Linked DNA regions of Homo sapiens: region 2 is linked to region 1. Evidence: promoter capture Hi-C in human tissues and cell types (Jung and others, 2019). All regions are on one chromosome and are shown on one strand. Each heading gives the region's core, a stretch centred on a gene start or on the middle of the fragment in contact. The rest is flanking DNA. Distances are from core to core; before and after follow the strand shown.

Region 1 (4,511 bases), core at 844-3,343:
TTCCCCATCCTCGGCATCTGACTTAGCCGGATTGAAAGTGTTAGAAATGAAAATTCGCAGCTTCCGTTTTTGCTGAGGAAGGCAGAAACAGGATTGATCGTGGGGCTTCAGTGGTCTGATGTTGAAGACAACGGTCTCCCCAAACCCCAAAATTACTCCTAACAGACTGGCTTACTGTCTACCCAGTCCCTTGGGTGGGTGGATGAAGATTCCATTTAGAAGAGGAGTACTGGCCATCAGCCTAAGTACAAGTGCATATAGTGGGATGCCAGGTGGACAAAGTCATGCAAGGTGCCAGGTTCCCAAGGTAGCAGAGCAGTTACAGCGAAAACATGGACAAGGGTATATTTGTAGTGCAAGAGACATCAAGAGCCCCTCCCCCTTTGCCATTCTGTTCTTATCCTCCTAATGTAATTCTCAGTTTGTAGGCGGAAGGGAGAGATGCAATTTAAATGCCAAGGAGAGTTGTGCTGTGCCTTTGATTTCTCATCCTAATTCTGCTGAAGGTTCCTGGGTCCTCTCCTTTGGCTCTCTGCCTAGTACTTTCCTGTGTTACCTTGATGGGACGTTTCAAGGCCTCTTGGATATCTAGCCGTTTCCTCATGATAGTCTGGTCCAGTTTCCTTTCAAAAGCCAAGAGATCCATATAGGCCTGGGATTCTGGTACCAGTTCACGAATCTTAGGAACAGAAAAATTAATTGAAATCTAGGATGATCATCTCTATACTCAAACTCACCACACTTTCCAGAAGACATATAGCCTGGACTCACCCTTTGAGGTAGAATTTTGTCAGCCATCTTCTTTTTCTTTGCACTGTTGGGAATAAATACTATTATCAGGTTGGGACAGAACTAGTCAGAACGTGAAAATAAGCTGTCAGCACGTCCATTTATAGTAATGTGAAGGGACTGCAAAGCTTCTCTCAAAGAACTACCACCACCACCACCACCACCAAGCATTCTCAAGGATGAGTTCTGTAGCACCATCTGCTGACACAGCACCACCACTTCTTGGTTCAGGTACTCCCACCACCTGTGTCCTCCCAGGCTCCCTCCCTCCCTCCCTCTGCCCCAGGATCATCTTACTTGTGGTTTCGATTTTGGACCGCCTGCTGCTGGACCTGCTGGATCTGCTGAGGGGCAGGTCTCTTGCGGGACTGATCCATCCCTGACTGGGCCAGGCCAGGTCGGACTGAAGGGTTCCCCCCATAGCCAGGGGGTCCCATGGAAGGTCCCTGAGGTGTCATTCGGCTGCCTGGCAACATACCTGGTCTCTACAGAGGGGAGAGGACCCAGAGATGTCATGGTTTCACCTGCTAAACCCCATCAAGAAAGAAAAGCAGGGAACGCCTGAGATCTTTGAATGAAGTAAGGTTTAGGGATGGAATGGAGGACAATGAGAGGAGAACCCTTTGCTCCAGTAGTGACTCCATAGAAAAACAGAGTCCAAAAGCTAAGCGAGAGCCAGATTATACTCAAATTCTCAGTCTATTTTGGATGGGACACATCGGACATCGCCAGTTCCACATTTACTCTGCTAGCTACTATCTCTTTAGAAGCTGACCTCAATTTGTCAGCTACACGTTCTGTGTTCCTCTGATCACTGGAGCTGCTCAAGCCCCTTTGCACTCCGGCCCTCATACAGGTATCCCTGGACCCACTTCACCCACCCAGGTTCTCTACCGACTCCCCAGGGAAACAATGCCCCTAGGAGCAGGTGTGTAACTGCCTCCCCCTCTCTTTCTGCGCACTGCCTCCCCCAACCCCCACCCAGAGCCCGAACCCCTCCCAAGGGAGTCCCTCCTACTTCTCCCCCCACCCCTGTCACTCCCATGTCCCCGCTCGGCCCCGCCCCCGGCCCGCGCGCCCCTCCTCCTGCCCCACTCACCGGATAGGCCGCTCCGGGCATCGGGGAGCGGTACAGCCCTTGACCCGGAGCCGGGCCCATTCGCACAGGAGGCCCCGGAGTTCCGCCCGGGCCCAAGGCAGCAGCCGCGCCCGCCCCTCCTGAGGCTCCGGCGCCGCCGCTTGGAGCCACAGACTGGAAACCCGCCCGGGCCGCCATCTTCCCGGAGCCGCCGATGCAGCCGCACAAAGAACCGGAACCGGAACTCCCCCCGCCCCCCGAGCGCCCCCCGAGCGCCCGCCTGTTCCCCCGGCCGGCCGGCCGGCACGGGAGGCTCAGGGCAGCGAGACTATGGGATAGAGCGGGGCGACTAGCGGAAAAGGCGTGCTGGCCACGCCCTCCCGCCTTCACGGTCCGGGAGGGAAAACCATAGAGAAGAGCTCTGCAATAGAGAGGCCGCGTGAGCGGGCGCCCCCAGGCCGACGGGAGGAAGACAAGGACCTGGAAAGGGGGACGGACCACAGCCTCAGCCCCAGTCTCAACCCCAACTCGAGCCCTCTGATGAAGAGGGGCTTGGAGTAATAGCTTCATCTTGGCGCATGGCGTTAACTTTCCAAAACGCTTTGACTGCTTTTCGTTTCGTTTTCTTACTGCTATAACTATCAGGGGCTGAGGAGGGAAACACAGTTTATTCCATTTTACAAATGGGAAAGCTGAACTCACAGGTGAATGACTTGGCAAAGGTCAACCAGCAAGTTAGCCATAAAGCCGAAGCCAAGATTCCAGATACCCTTGCTCATAGCCCGGGACTCATTCCACAGATAAAGTGCCTCAATAAGTACCTCACGTGGGAACTTCATCCTAACTTTCTCTCTGACCTAACCTGCTTCCGGATTATTATTTTTTATTTTTTATTTTTTTTTAGATGAGGTCTGTCTCTCTCTCGCCCAAGCTGGAGTGCAGTGGCACCATCTCAGCTCACTGCAACCTCCGCCTCCCAGGCTCAAGTGATCCTCCCAACTCAGCCTACCAAGTAGCTGGGACCACAGGCATGCACCACCATGCCAGACTGTTTTGTATTTTTGGTAGGGATGGGGTTTCGCCATGTTGCCCAGGTTGGTCTCGAACTCCTGAGCTCAAGCGATCTGTGCTCCTCAGCCTCCCAAAATGCTGGGATTACAGGTGTGAGCCATTGTGCCTGGCCTCAGATTTTTTTTTTTTTAAATATTAAAAAATAGGGATGGGGGGCTGGGCACGGTGGCTCATGCCTGTAATCCCAGCACTTGGGAGGCCCAGGCGGGTGGATCATGAGGTCAGGAGATCGAGACCATCCTGGCTAACACGGTGAAACCCCGTCTCTACTAAAAACACAAAAAAATTAGCCGGGCGTGGTGGCGGGCGCCTGTAGTCCCAGCTACTCGGGAGGCTGAGGCAGGGGAATGGTGTGAACCCGGGAGGCGGAGCTTGCAGTGAGCCGAGATCGCGCCACTGCACTCCAGCCTGGGCGACAGAGCGAGACTCCATCTCAAAAAAGAAAAAAAAAATAGGGATGGGGGTTTCACTATGTTGCATAGGCTGATCTCGAACTCCTGGCCGCAAGTGATCCACCTGTCTCAGCCTCCCAAAGTGTTGGGATTACGGGCATGAGCCACCGTGCCAGCCTGCTTCCAGATTTTATGATAAGTTCCAGTTTATCTTGAATTTTGACTCTGCTCTCTCTCTCTAAAGCATCCTTTGTATTGGGGATTCTGTTTTGGAACTTTGTTGCCTTTGACTTCTCCCTCTTTCCCTGCCCAGTGGTTCAAACTATTCCTGATATAATGGTCAGCCTGTCCCATCCCAGGGGGACCACAGTGTCCCTACTCAAACCTTCTCCTTACTCATCCCCTAATTGGCCCCAAACCAAGCTCAGCTTTAGGCACTTAGTGAGAATATCTAAATACTTTTTCAAATAAGAGAACAACACTGAAGAGGAGATGGTTGAAACCCAGTTTATTAGACCAGAGGCATGCGTCACCCAGAGCCCTGCCTGCTGTTCCCCTATCCAATGCACACTTTTTGGCCTCATTCCTGCTTCCCTCTGGGGAGGTATGATCTCTGAGGAAACTCTTAGGAACCAAGAGATTCCAAAGATCCTACAGCCTTACTCTCCAGCTCCAGGCCAATGCAGCTGCTCACAGGTCCTGTTCTGGGATTGAAGACCAAGACACAGCTAGGGAAGGAAGGCCTGAAGAGGGGTTGGGGCTCAGGCCTGGAAGGAGTGTCTGGTGGAGGGAGGGGGGGCAGGCCCTCCACCTCACTTGTCTCTCATTAAGATAGGGTGAGACAACAGCAGAGCTTTCAACTCCTCCTCTAGGCCTCTCTTTCCTCCCAAACCCACCTCACCAGAAAATAAAAGTGGTGGGCTTGGGTATCAGGTGAGGAAAGGGGGCTGGGCACCCAGAAGGAGGAAAGGCCACTGACTGAGGACCTCAGCTTCTGCCTGTCAGCATCCCACTGCCCCAACTTCAGGAGTCGCCAATCCCCAGCTCCCTTCTGTCTCTGACACACTTGGCTTAGTGTCCAGGGTAGACCTCCATCCCCTGGGTGGGGGCTATCTCTACAGCAACCCCTTCCCTGGGGATGCCACTGTCAGCTGGGCAGAGGGCAATGGGATAGGAGGAGC
Region 2 (4,511 bases), core at 1,328-3,827, 270 kb before region 1:
TGCAGCAGAGATTAAAGTGGAACCCACCACTGAGTCATTGGACAAAGAGGGCAAAGGTGAAATTAGAAGCCTAGTGGAGCCACTCAGTATGATCCAATTTGATGATACTGCTGAGCCACAGAAAGGAAAAATAAAAGGAAAGAAACACCATATCTCTTCAGGAACTATCACAAGCAAAGAAGAAAAAACTGAAGAGAAGGAAGAGTTGACCAAACAAGTCAAGTCTCATCAACTTGTTAAATCACTCTCAAGAGTGGCTAAAGAGACTTCAGAATCTACCAGAGTTCTAGAAAGTCCAGATGGCAAAAGTGAACAGAGTAACCTCGAAGAATTTCAGGAAGCCATAATGGCTTTCCTAAAACAGAAAATTGATAACATAGGAAAGGCTTTTGACAAAAAGACTGTTCCGAAGGAAGAGGAGTTATTAAAAAGAGCAGAAGCTGAAAAATTAGGAATCATAAAGGCAAAAATGGAGGAATATTTCCAAAAAGTGGCTGAAACTGTGACTAAAATCTTGAGAAAATACAAAGATACAAAAAAGGAAGAACAAGTTGGAGAGAAACCTATAAAACAAAAAAAGGTAGTCTCATTTATGCCAGGATTGCATTTTCAGAAGTCACCAATTAGTGCAAAATCTGAAAGCAGTACCCTCCTCTCATATGAGAGCACAGATCCAGTAATTAACAATTTAATACAAATGATCTTGGCTGAAATAGAAAGTGAAAGAGATATTCCAACAGTCTCAACAGTACAGAAAGACCACAAGGAGAAGGAAAAACAAAGGCAGGAGCAATATTTGCAAGAGGGTCAAGAACAAATGTCTGGCATGAGTCTCAAACAGCAGTTGCTGGGAGAAAGAAATCTCTTGAAGGAGCACTATGAGAAGATAAGTGAGAATTGGGAAGAAAAAAAGGCATGGCTCCAGATGAAGGAGGGAAAGCAAGAACAACAGAGCCAGAAACAGTGGCAGGAAGAAGAGATGTGGAAGGAAGAGCAAAAACAGGCAACTCCAAAGCAGGCTGAGCAAGAGGAAAAGCAAAAGCAAAGAGGACAGGAGGAAGAAGAGCTTCCAAAGTCAAGCCTGCAGCGGCTGGAAGAAGGGACCCAAAAAATGAAAACACAAGGGTTGCTCTTGGAAAAGGAGAATGGACAGATGAGGCAGATTCAGAAGGAAGCGAAACATTTGGGGCCACACAGGAGAAGGGAGAAAGGGAAGGAAAAGCAGAAGCCAGAGAGAGGGCTAGAGGACCTCGAAAGGCAGATCAAAACAAAGGATCAGATGCAGATGAAGGAAACACAACCTAAAGAGCTAGAAAAAATGGTCATCCAAACTCCAATGACATTATCTCCCAGGTGGAAGAGTGTATTGAAAGATGTACAGCGGTCATATGAAGGAAAAGAGTTTCAGAGGAATCTGAAGACATTAGAGAACCTTCCTGATGAAAAGGAGCCCATATCAATCACACCTCCCCCCTCCCTACAATACTCCCTGCCTGGAGCTCTTCCTATTTCTGGCCAGCCTCTCACTAAATGCATTCATCTCACACCTCAGCAGGCCCAGGAAGTGGGGATCACACTCACTCCTCAGCAGGCCCAGGCTCAGGGGATCACGCTCACCCTTCAGCAGGCCCAGGAACTAGGGATCCCTCTCACCCCTCAGCAGGCCCAGGCCCTGGAGATCCTTTTCACCCCTCAGCAGGCGCAGGCCCTGGGGATCCCTCTCACCCCTCAGCAGACCCAGGTTCAAGGGATCACTCTCACCCCTCAGCAGGACCAGGCCCCGGGGATCTCTCTCACCACTCAGCAGGCTCAGAAACTAGGGATCCCTCTTACCCCTCAGCAGGCCCAGGCCCTGGGGATCCCTCTCACCCCTCAGCAGGCTCAGGAATTGGGGATCCCTCTCACCCCTCAGCAGGCCCAGGCCCTGAGGGTCTCTCTCACCCCTCAGCAGGCTCAGGAATTGGGGATCCCTCTCACCCCTCAGCAGGCCCAGGCCCTGGGGATCACTCTAACCCTTCAGCAGGCCCAGCAATTGGGGATCCCTCTCACCCCTCAGCAGGCGCAGGCTCTCGGAATCACTCTCACCCCTAAGCAGGTTCAGGAACTGGGGATCCCTCTTACTCCTCAGCAGGCCCAGGCCCTGGGGATCACTCTCACCCCTAAGCAGGCTCAGGAATTGGGGATCCCTCTCAACCCTCAGCAGGCCCAGACCCTGGGGATCCCTCTCACCCCTAAGCAGGCACAGGCTCTGGGGATCCCTTTCACCCCTCAGCAGGCGCAGGCCCTGGGGATCCCTCTCACCCCTCAGCAGGCGCAGACTCAGGAGATCACTCTCACCCCTCAGCAGGCCCAGGCCTTGGGGATGCCTCTCACCACTCAGCAGGCTCAGGAACTGGGGATCCCTCTCACCCCTCAGCACGCTCAGGCCTTGGGGATGCCTCTCACCACTCAGCAGGCTCAGGAACTGGGGATCCCTCTCACCCCTCAGCAGGCTCAGGCCTTGGGGATGCCTCTCACCACTCAGCAGGCTCAGGAACTGGGGATCCCTCTCACCCCTCAGCAGGCTCAGGAATTGGGGATCCCTTTCACCCCTCAGCAGGCACAGGCTCAGGAGATCACTCTCACCCCTCAGCAGGCCCAGGCCCTGGGGATGCCTCTCACCGCTCAGCAGGCTCAGGAGCTGGGGATCACTCTCACCCCTCAGCAGGCTCAGGAATTGGGGATCCCTCTCACCCCTCAGCAGGCCCAGGCCCTGGGGATCCCTCTCATCCCTCCGCAGGCTCAGGAATTGGGGATCCCTCTCACCCCTCAGCAGGCCCAGGCCCTGGGGATCCTTCTCATCCCTCCGCAGGCTCAGGAATTGGGGATCCCTCTCACCCCTCAGCAGGCCCAGGCCCTGGGGATCCCTCTGATCCCTCCGCAGGCTCAGGAATTGGGGATCCCTCTCACCCCTCAGCAGGTCCAGGCCCTGGGGATCCCTCTCATCCCTCCGCAGGCTCAGGAATTGGAGATCCCTCTCACCCCTCAGCAGGCCCAGGCCCTGGGGATCCCTCTCACCCCTCAGCAGGCGCAGGAACTGGGGATCCCTCTCACCCCTCAGCAGGCGCAGGAACTGGGGATCCCTCTCACCCCTCAGCAGGCGCAGGCTCAGGGGATCCCTCTCACCCCTCAGCAGGCCCAGGCTCTGGGGATCTCTCTCACCCCTCAGCAGGCGCAGGCTCAGGGGATCACTCTCACCCCTCAGCAGGCCCAGGCACTGGGAGTCCCCATCACCCCAGTAAATGCCTGGGTGTCAGCTGTCACTCTTACCTCTGAGCAAACCCACGCTTTGGAGTCCCCTATGAACTTAGAACAGGCTCAAGAACAGTTATTGAAGTTAGGGGTTCCTCTCACCTTAGATAAAGCCCATACCTTGGGATCGCCCCTCACCCTTAAGCAAGTCCAGTGGTCCCATAGACCATTTCAGAAATCGAAGGCTTCTCTCCCCACTGGGCAATCCATCATATCAAGATTGTCTCCAAGTCTTAGGCTGTCCCTGGCATCATCAGCTCCTACTGCTGAGAAGTCCTCTATATTCGGGGTCTCTTCTACTCCTTTGCAGATATCAAGGGTTCCCCTCAACCAAGGCCCCTTTGCCCCTGGGAAGCCCCTAGAAATGGGGATTCTTTCTGAGCCTGGGAAGCTTGGGGCACCACAGACTCTTCGTTCCTCTGGACAGACCCTGGTATACGGAGGTCAATCCACTTCTGCGCAGTTCCCGGCACCACAGGCCCCTCCCTCCCCTGGGCAGCTCCCAATATCTCGGGCCCCTCCCACTCCAGGGCAGCCCTTTATAGCTGGAGTTCCACCCACTTCTGGACAGATTCCAAGTCTCTGGGCTCCTCTTTCTCCTGGGCAGCCCTTAGTTCCTGAAGCCTCTTCCATCCCTGGGGACCTCCTGGAATCTGGACCCTTAACCTTCTCTGAGCAGCTCCAGGAATTCCAGCCTCCTGCCACTGCTGAGCAATCTCCCTATCTGCAGGCTCCTTCTACCCCTGGGCAGCATCTGGCAACATGGACCCTTCCTGGGCGAGCTTCTTCATTATGGATCCCTCCCACCTCTAGACATCCTCCCACACTATGGCCGTCCCCAGCCCCTGGAAAGCCCCAGAAAAGTTGGTCCCCTTCTGTTGCTAAGAAAAGATTGGCAATTATTTCTTCTCTGAAATCTAAATCAGTATTGATCCATCCTAGTGCTCCAGATTTCAAGGTAGCTCAAGTTCCTTTCACCACTAAGAAGTTCCAAATGTCGGAGGTCTCTGACACTTCCGAAGAAACCCAGATACTTCGAGACACTTTTGCTATAGAATCATTTAGAACATTTCAGTCCCATTTCACCAAATATAGGACACCAGTATACCAAACCCCTTACACTGATGAAAGGGCCCTTCTCACTCTCATGAAGCCAACAACATCACCATCTTCTCTCACTACTCTACTCAGAACATCACAGATTTCACCTTTGGAATGGT

The links. The method cuts DNA at HindIII sites, captures the fragments that hold promoters and counts their contacts. A contact is called where the count stands out against the background at its distance.
Region 2: a fragment that was not itself captured here is called in contact with the fragment with the promoter of SMARCD1 in region 1 in 1 of the 25 tissues and cell types used here (aorta).

Annotation. Positions count from the first base shown.
Region 1 is chr12:50,082,924-50,087,434 of GRCh38, reverse strand. SMARCD1 (SWI/SNF related BAF chromatin remodeling complex subunit D1) reads right to left here and starts at 2,093. Exons shown (of 13, transcript NM_003076.5): 1 at 1,889-2,093; 2 at 1,087-1,274; 3 at 772-814; 4 at 557-679; 5 at 1-72. The coding sequence starts at 2,065. ASIC1 (acid sensing ion channel subunit 1) reads right to left here. Exons shown (of 12, transcript NM_001095.4): 12 at 3,824-4,511. RefSeq lists enhancers at 670-1,401, 2,251-2,510, 2,868-3,600 and a silencer at 1,741-2,180. The HindIII fragment of the contact is 20,407 bases long and covers 1-4,511 here.
Region 2 is chr12:50,350,639-50,355,149 of GRCh38, reverse strand. FAM186A (family with sequence similarity 186 member A) reads left to right here. Exons shown (of 8, transcript NM_001145475.3): 4 at 1-4,511. Among named protein-coding and RNA genes, the nearest start is that of FAM186A, 44 kb to the left of the region's middle. The HindIII fragment of the contact is 3,491 bases long and covers 832-4,322 here.